Regions from separate parts of the Homo sapiens genome. Here region 1 is linked to region 2. The links are contacts of gene promoters, found by promoter capture Hi-C in human tissues and cell types (Jung and others, 2019). All regions are on one chromosome and are shown on one strand. Each heading gives the region's core, a stretch centred on a gene start or on the middle of the fragment in contact. The rest is flanking DNA. Distances are from core to core; before and after follow the strand shown. Region 1 holds the start of LINC02697 (long intergenic non-protein coding RNA 2697). Region 2 holds the start of GLB1L3 (galactosidase beta 1 like 3).

Region 1 (5,241 bases), core at 1,166-3,665, 670 kb before region 2:
AGTGTCCCTCAGCAGAGGCCATTTGTTTTTAAAGCTAACAGGCCACACCTGGCCATAGCATTGTTTTACTTTAAAAAAAAAAAAACCACGTTCTAGGGGGGTGAAATCTGGGTGTACTCCCATCTCACATTAGCATATAGTACTCCACTGCAGAGCATGTGAACGCGGCAGCTCAGGGCAACCCACAATTATTCTATGAAAATGGCTGGCTGAATAACTATACATTTAAGCAAGTCTCAACCCCACTGTGTCTCAACCCCTACTGCCTGTGCTATCGTTAGGAGGAACTGTCCCAAGTCACTCTACCCCGTTTTGCCCAGAACCCTTCTGGTGACAGGCAGCCTCAGTGCCTTCTTCCTCCTTGCTTTCTTCCCTTATAGAGTTCAAATCTCACGTCTGTAGGTTTGTTCAGAACTAACCAGCAAAACTGCACCCAGCTGTGTTCCTAACATCTTCCACGTGCAGCTCTGCGTATCACAAGGAAAGAGATTCCTGAATGTACAACCGAGCCACACCAAGTACAAATCTGCGCACCCTAAAATCTGCCCACTCCCTGTAGTAGCTGCTCCTGCAGCTCTCGCTGTGGGCTCGCATGGCCCCTTCAGCTGTCTAAACAGAAACATTGGCATCCCCAGCTCCACTCCTTTAGCTCCTGCGCAGTGAGAAAGAAAGAGCGAGTCAAACATGAAATCCACTAATATATTAATTCAGCTCAGCAAGCAAAACCCATGAGCACCCAGCTCAGCAGAGCCTGCCAGGCATGACTAATCAGACCCTGGCTGAAGCAACGCTCTCTTCCTCGGTCCTCTCTGGAAGTGTGCTGGTTATGCAGCTTCTTCCTCTGAGCTCAGGAGACTCTGAAAAATGCAGTTTAAAAGGATGTAAATTAGGAAAATGTAAATACCCCTGGCTCCCTCACACAGGACTAGGTTTTGTGGTGGGGGAAGTTGCTTTACCTCATCGAGTCTTGGTTTTCTCATCAGTGATGACTTGCAGAGTTTTGTATGAAGTCCCAGGGCCCTGGCCCCACTACAAGGAGCTTGAATTTAGCAGGTCTGCAGTGGGCCTGGGCAGCTGTATGTTTAAAAGTTGCACAGTGACTGCGATGCTACCCAGCTGAATGGCATCAGCTTAGCTCATGGCTTCTCAGAAGCGATGTGCAGACTCCGATTCAATATCTTCAATGTAGGCTCTGAGGTTCTACATTTCTAACAGCTCCTGGAAGGGCCAGTGCTGCTGGCATGTGGACAACTCTTTGAGTACACAGGTTCCAGGTCTGTGGCTCCCGGTCTCGGCTGCACTTCAGATTGGGCCAGCCCCTCCTGACTGGATAAGATCTTATGGGACTGTTGGTGAGGAATCCCTACCCTAGCCAAGCTGTAGGAGTGTGACTTAAGCTGGCTGATTATCTGGATCCTCTGTGAAAGTTGATCCTAGTGCTCAGTGACTCAAAGACTGTGGAAAGTCAGAGCTCATGAATCCAGATTACAATGACATGCGAGACTGTTCCTGGTGCCCGAGATTCAGTTCCCAGAGCTACTATGGCTTATTAGGTACAGGTACAATTTTCCTTTTGTAAGATGCTCCATATTATTCCAAATATGGCCTTTTTTATTTGTAGAAAAAATATCTTTTTGTCACTGACAATTAAAGAAACATAACTGATATTTCTGTAAGATGTAACATCCCATAATTCTGCTCTCCCTGCATCAACCTGCATGTTCGTGTTATCTTCCTTATGGGGAAGAGGGGATAGCCACCACCTGCCTGGCCCCACACCTCCACCCTCACCTGAAACCCCAGGCCTGGAGAACACACTTGTCACCTCCCCTGCCTTGTGTTTGAGTTTCTCCCTCCGTAAAGAAGCGCTCTAAGGCTGGATGTTGATAAAATGACTCCACTGATGGAGGAAAACTCCTGCCCAGCTGACTCTCACTTCTGGGAAGGACTGGTCATGGTCAAATTGTGAAGGAGCCAAGGCTTAAAGAAGGCATTTCTTTATTCTTTTCTTTCAGTTATTTGTTCAGTTTTCATCTCCAGCCTCCTGGAGCATTTGCCTGATAGGAACCTATTGATGAAACGTGTCCCAAAACCCTTCACCAAAGAACAATTTATCCGTCTAGATCTTCAGTCCCGTCTGCTTTCTAATATGACCAATAGACAATGAAGTGTGTAGTCAGTATTGGCTATTGACACCAACAGCCAATAACAGCTTAATTACTCACTGTTCTGAGGCTGCGTGCTCTGATCCAGAGAAGGATTCCAGCAGTGGGTTTTAGGCACGTTTCCCAGTATCAGTCAGTATCTGGGAGAAACTTAGGACTCTTATTTCTCTCCCCCTTGCTTCCACGTGTCCCATATAGACACTTTATTACTAATCGAGGGTGAGTTGGGTGGCAAGTAATAACACTGCACATCCCACATGCTTTTCTTACAATGTAAGCTTAACGTACCAGCCGTGGAATGATGATGTCTGTCCCCTCTCATTCAGTCTGGCTGGATCTTTGCGACTGCCCTGATTAATGGAGTACAATGAGAAGGACATGATTTTACTCCCAAGGCTAGCATGCGAAAGGTGATATGGCTTCAGCCTGGTTCTCTTGGGATGTTCACTCTTAGAAGAAATTTGAAGAACCCCAAACAGCCACATGGAGAAGCCACAAACAGATATTCTGGCTGGCAGCCCAGCAGAGGTCCCAGCCAGCAGCCAGCATCAACTGCCATGTGAAGAAGTGTGCCTGCAGGGGGGTTCAGACCCCAGCTGCCAAGCTGCCTCCAGCCTCCCGGTCTTCCAAGCTGAGGATGCAGACAGTGTGGAGCAGAGATAAACCACCCTACAATGCTGTTCTCAGATCCCTGGATTGCAGAACCCAAGAGCACTACAAAACAGTTGCTATTTTACATTGCCAAGTTTGGGATTGCTTGTGGCATCAAGGACAGGAAATTCCAAGCTCTTGGTCAATGCTTAGTCATAGTGTCCTGGGTTTGTTTTCAGAGAAAACACATGACAGAGTGGCCCCTTTTCTCTCTTACCTCTCCAGTGACTGCAGCGGGAAGTGCCAAGGGCCAGACAGGCTTTCTCTCGGAAAGTTCTCTCTTCCTAATACAGCAACCAGGCTTGGCTGGTTTTGTGCTGAGCACTGCAGACAAACAGGGTCCCTTGTGCTGTGACTCCATTTCCTCCTGCTATTGTAGGAATTCTCTGGCCTGGTTGATGGAGTCAAGCTTAAGGTCTGGTTGTGAGTGCATAAAAAGGAATATACTGCCCAGCACTTGGTTCTAAGCTCTGAGCTGCCTTATGCATATTCTCATAAATTCTCATGAAGAATTACCTATTGAGTCCAACATAGTTTAATGGAATTCTGTTTGGAGGCTTGGAACCAAAGTCCCAATTAATAATAAAGCGTTACTTTGCTTTCCTTTGCCAGTTTAGCCTATGCATGTATTTTCCTTAGAGAGCCCATGGAGGAGAGAGAGGTGGCTAAAACAAGAAGAGATCTGTGGATGACTGCATCTCCCAGCCAAAAGACCACTCAGATAGCTTCCATGAGGATGACTGCATCTCCTGGCCAAAGACAACTCTGATAGCTTCGATGAGGATGACTGCATCTCTTGGCCAAAGACCACTCTGATAGCTTCCATGAGGATGACTGCATCTCCTGGACAAAGACCACTCTGATAGCTTCCATGAGAGCTCCCTGGGGCATCCATGGAGAAGATATTTTTGAGGGAGAAATCCCCAATGCATCTTGAATCTTGCAGCCCACACAGGGATTTCCTACAAGCAAACCCAGCCTTGAGCTATAAAGACCTGATCACTTTCCTGGGTGAAGACAGCAGACTGACTCAGTTATTCTGTGGATAGGTGACTTGATCAATGAGTTGGCGAGAAATCTAAGATGTGTCTTTCAGGCGCATATCTCAGATTTGTAAAATTATTATTTATTTATTTAATTTTTTTTTTTGGGATAGAGACTCACTCTGTCACCCAGGCTGGAGTGCAGTGGCACGATCTCAGCTCAATACAACCTCCACCTCCCAGGTTCAAATGATTCTCCTGCCTCAGCCTCCTGAGTAGCTAGGATTACAGGTGCCTGCCACCATGCCCAGCTAATCTTTGTATTTTTAGTAGAGACGGGGTTTCACCATATTGGCTGGGCTGGTCTCCAACTCCTGACCTCGGGTGATCCTCCCGCCTCAGCCTCCCAAAGTGCTGGGATTACAGGCTTGAACCACCGTGCCTGGCCTCAGATTTGTAAGATAATTTACACAAGACTCGGTGTCTCTGCATCTCACACTGGTTGTATATTGCATTAAACGGGTGATAATTCTCCCCTAATCAAACTGTGCCCATATGCTGGCAAGGACATTCATGTTATGAAGACAAGAGGTAGCTGAAAAATAAAGAGACAATAGCCACGAGACAGACCCAGAGGTCAGGCAGGGCAGGCTTGCCGTGAGGACACGGCTCATCCCACGGGGCCTGGGAACTGGCGGTCACAGCAGTGCAAGGTCCTGTTCTCTCCTCCGCAGGGACAGACAGGCCACCAGCCTGACAGAGACGGCACTGGGGGCAGCTGCCAGGAACAAGCAGGGATTACACTAGGATTTCTCAAAACCCGTCTCACAGAATACACGTTTTATTAAAAACTACTACATGAAGATTCTGTGTTCAAGTGAGTTTTGGAATGAGGAAGATCTGCAGCCAGTTTCACATGTAGATTTCTCCAAAGGATTTGGCCACAGACATTTAATTCTGGGAAACTTAAAGGCATGCTGATCATCTCAAGGTATTAAAAATAAATTTTTCTGAATGGTGGGATTATAGTTAATTTGCATTTTTCCTTTTGTTTATCTGTGAATCACATATTTTGCATAATGACTATATATTGCTTTTGTGGTGGAGAAAATATTTTAATGCAATGAAAACTCTGGTCTACCTGAGGTCAGGCAGATCTGCAGAACAGTGGACAGAGTGGGAAGGTGGGAATAGAGCGGCTCCTCCCTGCGGAGGAGGAGGGAAACCCAGGCTGGACCCAGGCAGGGTCTGAACCTCCAGTGAAGACATGAGGGACTGGGGTGGGTACAGCACAGTGCAGGGCCTGCTTGCTTTCCTCTCCTCACACCCTGCTTGTATATTCCATTTTCTTTCAGGACAATGAGCTCCAAGCAAGGATGGTGCAGGAAGAGCTCAGGACGGATCTTGCCACCTCCATCTTAGCCAGAGGGTTTTCCTGAGCT
Region 2 (5,775 bases), core at 3,059-5,558:
TGGCCTTCTATGAGCTTAACAACGTAGCTTGTTGTATGTTGTAAGTTACAACATAGCTTGCCGTAAGTAAAGGAGAAGCTGACTGAATTAGAGAGGACCTGGATACATCAGTTACCATCACAGTGAAAAGATTTAAAGTACCCCTCTAAGAAACAAAGAAAATAAGCAGCAAAAAAAGAAAAAGAAGAAACTTGTAAGGATACAGATTTGAACTGTGTAATTAAAAGTCGGCATGTAATAAATACATAGAGAACCCAGTAGCCAACAGATGGAGCATCTACATTCCCTTAAAAAGCGCATCTGTACAACTAAGTATGAAAAAAGAATGTAAAATTTAAAAGACCAAAATTTAAAATGCATGAAACAGTTGTAAAATATTGGCATGTACTATGTCACGAAGTAAATCTCAACAAATTCCAAAAACCTATATCACATAGTCCATGATCCCAAGATAAATGCAAACAAATTTAAAAATCACAGTTAAATAGTAAAATTTAAATAAATAAATAAATAAATAAAACAGAAAGCGTATTCCCAAATAGCTAATAGAAACAACATCAAAACTTAGGAAATATTTGAAAATAAATGACATTCAAAGCACTATATAGCAAAATTTGTGGGCTATATAACCAAAGCAACACTCAGAGAAACATTCATATCTTTGAAGGAATATATTAGAAAACACAAAAGACTGGAAGTAAAAGAAGCTAAATTTTAACTCAGGGAAAAAGAAGAAGGAGGAGGAGGAAACTGAGAAGGACAGAGAAGAGAAGGTACTATATTTAATAAAGTAGAGAAAAGGAAATTACACATAACTCAGAAACTGTGAAATACAGATCCGAAATATACAGAGAGTACTAACAAAGCTACAAGCTAGTTATCTGAAAAGACTAAATAGATAAGATTAAGAAAAAAGAAAAAAACAGCCAAAATACACAACGTGATGTATATAACTTCCAAGTGAGTACAGGAAAGAAAGGAAAAATTTCTTAAGTCCCAGTGGGTTCAAAAGAAGAAAGAAGGCTGGGCGAGGTGGCTCACATCTGTAATCCCAGCACTTTGGGAGGCCGAGGCAGGCGGATCACCTGAGGTCAGGAGTTTGAGACCAGCCTGACCGATATGGTGAAACCCCATCTCTACTAAAAATACAAAAATTAGCCGGGTGTGGTGGCGGGAGCCATAATCCCAGCTACTCAGGAGGGTGAGGCAGGAGAATCACTTGAACCCAGGAGGGGGAGGTTGCAGTGAGCAGAGATCGCGCCACTGCACTCCAGCCTGGGCAACAGAGCAAGACTCTATCTCAAAAAAAAAAAAAAAAAAAAGAAAAAGAAAACAGAAAGAAAAAAGAAAGGAAAGAAAAAAAGGGGGAGAGCAGGATGTATTCAAGAAGAAATAGAGGACATGAGTTAATAACCATTCAAAGAGCTATGTCGTCCCCAAACCCTTCACCTCACAAACCACAAAAGATAGTAGTCACAGAGTTTACAGGTGAATCTTAAGAAACTTTCAGGGTAAAGATAATTCTTGTGCAAAATATTTCCAATAAGTAAGAAAAGAAGATTTACTCACTTTATGAGCTTATTATAAGATTGATTCAAAACTGGACAAGAATACTAACAAAATAAAATTTTAAATCCGTTTTGCTTATAATCATAAACACATTTGAAATAAAACACTAGCAAATAAAGTCTAGCAATCTGTGTGTATGTAATGTGTGCCTATCTCAGAGCCAAGCAGAGTTTATACCAGTACCACATGGCTGCTTGACTATCAGAAAAATTGCCGTTGTAATTCAGCAATTCAAAAGAACAGTGAAGAAAAACTATATTGTCCCCCCAATACATGCAGTAGCAGCTCTCAATAAAACTCAACGATTATTTCTGATTAAATTCTTTGCATTTTAAATGAACCAGTTTACTGCCTCTCAGCTTCAAATTCACCCTTCAATACCAGCTCTGCAATAAGGCACAGGGCCCTCTAAGCATCTTCTCCTTTACAGTGAGTGTGATGGTAAGCTTGCCACAAAATGGTGGTGGCAGGCCCTCAGGAGGACAGGGCCTCTGATTCTGGAGCAGTTTTGCTTTTTTGTGGTCATACAGGGTGGCTGGTCAGTTGTATACAGGCATGAGGACGACCGTGGTGTTCCCTTTTAAAGGGTGAACTGCTTGAGTCCAGGAGTTTGAGACCAGCCCAGGCAACATGGCGAAACTCCATCTCTACAAACAATTCAAAAAATTAGCCTGGTGTGGTGGCATGCACCTGTGGCCCCAGCTGTTCAGGAGGCTGAGGCAGGAGGATCACCTGAGCCAGAGAAGTAGAAGCTGCCGTGAGCTAAGATCGGGCCACTGCACTCCAGCCTGAGCAACAAACAGAACAACAAACTGTGTCTCAAAAAAAAAAATTTTTTTTTGTTTTAAAAACATGCATGTATCTGTAAGTACATATTTATCTGTAAGTGTGCCTTAAGCTTATGTCATTAAACTGAGTGCTCCCAAGGGCGCCTGGTGTTCCTTCATTAGACAGACAGAATCCTGAGGAAATAACCTCCTCCCTTGAGATTCTCCCACTAACCCCTATCCAAGTCTTTGATCACAGAGCAAACTCAGCATGAGACTAAGTGACAGCTGGACGCTTAAGCATTAAATGTATGTGCTGGAAACGACTGTGCGGAAGGTAAGTCCTCACGCTGGGCCCCCAAAATCGGAGGCTCAGGTTCCCGGCCAGGATGCACTTGTAGGGTAACGAGATCCTGGAGGTGAGGGGCCGGCACTCACGTGGTGACAGTATTGAAGCCACAGGCCTTCAGCTTCAGCAGGCGGTCCCTCCAGTACTCCCTGGGCACCCGGAAATAGTGGATGGAGCCCCCGAAGATCAGGAACTTGTGGCCCTCCAGTGTGAAGTGGGGCTTACCCCGACCTGTGCTTTCAGTTCCAAGTCCCACAGATCGATTCTTCAGCTCCAGAGGGGTCAGATGAGACCAATTAAACCTGGAGGGGGCGGGCGAGGGAAAGAAAGTGGAAAGGGAGAGAGGATTCGGGAGAGGGCTCGGAGGCACGGCTGAAACCCTAGCGAAAAGAAGTTTTTGTTAGTAGGACGTGTTCTGTGCATATGTTAGTAGGACGTGTTCTGTGCATATGTTAGTAGGACGTGTTCTGTGCATATTCGCGATACTATTTTCTCCAAGAAAGGAGAGATCGCTCCCCTCCCTCCCCAGGGATGTAGCTCTCAAGCAAACCTAGGCTGGGACGGATGCGCTCTTCCAAGCATGAAGTTCTCTTCCTGCTTAAACCGAGGAGCAAAACCTGATGAGATAAATGGCAGGAAAAAGATGCCCGCCATTCTCTTCCAGGAGAGACACGGGCTGAAAGGAGAAAGGACAACAGTGACAAGGGGAAGGTTCCGGCCCCACCGGGCTGCAAGGGCCGGGAAGCTGTGCCGGGGGCGCTTTAGAGGCCAGAGCCAGGGAGGGGGCCCGCGACACAGGCGGGTCTTCCAGGCGGGCCCAGGGCCAGGACAGCGCGGCATCACCCGGCCAGTCCTCTGCAGCCAGGATGAAGGCCGGGGACAGACGTTCAGTCCTAGACCCTCCAGACAGGGCTGGGCAGTGCCGGTGGGTGCCTGGGAGAGGCGGAGGCGGGCGCACTTCCAGCACCAGGTTCGGGAAGGACACGGTGCCCAGCCGCTGGAGCCCCTGGCCTGCGTGCCCCACCCTGATTTTCTGGCATCTGGTGAACGGCCCCTCCGCAGGGTGGGGGTAGCCAGGGGATCTGCCGAGGAAAGCTGGGGACAGCGGGCTTGGTGGCGCGGCCCGGCGCGGCGCGTGCCTGGGGCGCGTGGCCGGCCACAGAACCCGGGGAGGGTGGAGGCTCCCGGGCACGCGCCGGGGTGGTGGGCAGCCCGGGACGGCAGCGGCGATCCGTCACCTGAGGAGGGGCGGGGACTTCATCGCGGCCAGGCCGAGGCGCCGAGGGTCCCTTGCGGCTTCCGCCCCTCTCCGCTGGCCCCGACGCCGCGCTCGGGCCGGGACTCGAGCCCCGGTTCCGCGGGGCAGGCTCAGGTCTGCGCGCTGCGCCTGCAGCCGAGGCAGAAATCCGTCCCGAGGCGCGGGCGCCGGGTCCGGGTCCCAAGGATGCGCGTCGGGCTCCCTCCCGCGGGGACAGCCGAGCTCCGCCGGCGCTCCAGGTGTTCCCGCAGTGCGTCCGGGCGCGGACGCCTCTCTGCCCTCGGAGGGGAAGCGGGAGGGCCCTTGGGGTAACGCCCCGACCTCGGGCTTCCTAACCTGGGTCGACAGCCGGCTGGCACAGGGAGGCCTGCGCGGGAGAGGGGCGGAGAGAGCGCAGCGCGGGGCACAGCGGGCGGTCTCCGTGCCGCGCGCGCGACTGGAAACGGCGTGCAGATCCTAAAACGAGGGTTCCACAGAGGGCCACGAGGGGCAGGAGAGAGTCCCCGGAGAACTCTAGCTCCCCGACACGGCTACCTCTTGGCAAACGAGCGAGAATTGGGGCGCAGAGCCTTGGGAGGGCCGTTCCCTCGGCGGGAGCGGCCCGAGCACAGCCTCACAGCAGATGCGAGCGCGGCGGGCGCTTTGGTGACGAAGTAGCGGGACCTGCAGGAGGCAGAGGCCTGGTGGGGCCGTGGACGCCACGCCGAGCTGCCCAGACCCTTCCAGAAGACAGTGGGGACTATTCAACGGTTTCCAGCAGAAACTAAGCCAGGTGTTCGTTTTACGGAGATTGCTCGGCTGCAGGGTGGAGGCTGGATGAGAACAGGCGTCCTCTCAGGTAGGCGCTCGTGGTGGTAACGCTGCCCAGGAGGAGGGCACGGGTTCCGGGAAGACTTGCGAGGTTAAACCGGCAGCTCCGGAGAACTGAGCGCAAGAGGTCGGTGACACAGAGAGGAGTCCGGGAGGCCGCATGTTTCAGGCTGAAGTCACTTGGCGGGGACGTTTATTGAGATGCGAAACACAGGAAGGGATAGAGGCTGCGCAGAGGGAAAAGGCGATGGACTCGGTTTTGGAAACGCTGATGTGAAGTCCCTACGATGAAAAAAGAAATCTTCCGATTTCTCCCTTTGAAGTCTTTGCTTCTTCCGTTGCAAAGAACACAGCCTATGACATCAGGTTGAAACCAAGAATGTAGTTCTCTGAAAATACTGTGTGTGGGGGAGGGAGTTTATCTTGTCTCATTCCTTACAAGGATACTTTGCTCTCCGACACCTTAGCTCCCTGAAAGTTTCCTAGATCGTCCATCTTTTCCTCATTTTTTCGACTGCAAGCAATGAACTGTTAATTTTTTACAGTTTGGTTTTACAGCCACACACTTTATTCTTCTTTGTCAAGTTTAAAGTATTCTAGGGCTTGTGCCTTCCCACATAAAATTTAGAATAAACTTGTCTGTTTCTACAAAAAGCCATGTTGGTATTTCGAGAGGAATTGCAATCAACCTATGGATCAAATTGAGAATTGTATCCTTATTATGTTGAATCTTCCAACCCACGAACATGGTATGTCTGTCTATTTAAATAGTTTTTTTTTTTTCACTTCTTTCATCAGAATTGTGTGATTTTTTCAACATCAGATCCTATCACGTTTTGTTAGGTTTATACTTAAATATTTCCTTTGCTCTCAAGAGATTTAAACTGTTATTATTTTTATTTCAGTTTTTACATGTTTGTTGTTAGCATACAGAAATGTGATTGTGTTTCTCATGTTGATCTCATATCCTGTGACCTTGGCAAACTCACCTATTAATTTTAAGAGGTTATTTGTGTATTACT

Evidence for each region. Contacts are between HindIII fragments. The study calls those that stand out against the background at their distance.
Region 1: a contact is called between a fragment that was not itself captured here and the fragment with the promoter of GLB1L3 in region 2, in 1 of the 25 tissues and cell types used here (H1 embryonic stem cells).

The regions. Positions count from the first base shown.
Region 1 is chr11:134,947,013-134,952,253 of GRCh38, reverse strand. It overlaps LINC02697 (long intergenic non-protein coding RNA 2697), which reads right to left and starts at 1,265. Exons shown (of 2, transcript NR_187396.1): 1 at 957-1,265. RefSeq lists enhancers at 2,195-3,394, 3,947-4,447, 4,448-4,948. The HindIII fragment of the contact is 3,649 bases long and covers 591-4,239 here.
Region 2 is chr11:134,274,912-134,280,686 of GRCh38, reverse strand. GLB1L3 (galactosidase beta 1 like 3) reads right to left here and starts at 4,308. Exons shown (of 20, transcript NM_001080407.3): 1 at 3,924-4,308; 2 at 3,236-3,361; 3 at 2,775-2,987. The coding sequence starts at 3,946. RefSeq lists a silencer at 4,130-4,199 and enhancers at 4,650-4,699, 4,850-4,979, 5,040-5,149. The HindIII fragment of the contact is 8,641 bases long and covers 2,242-5,775 here.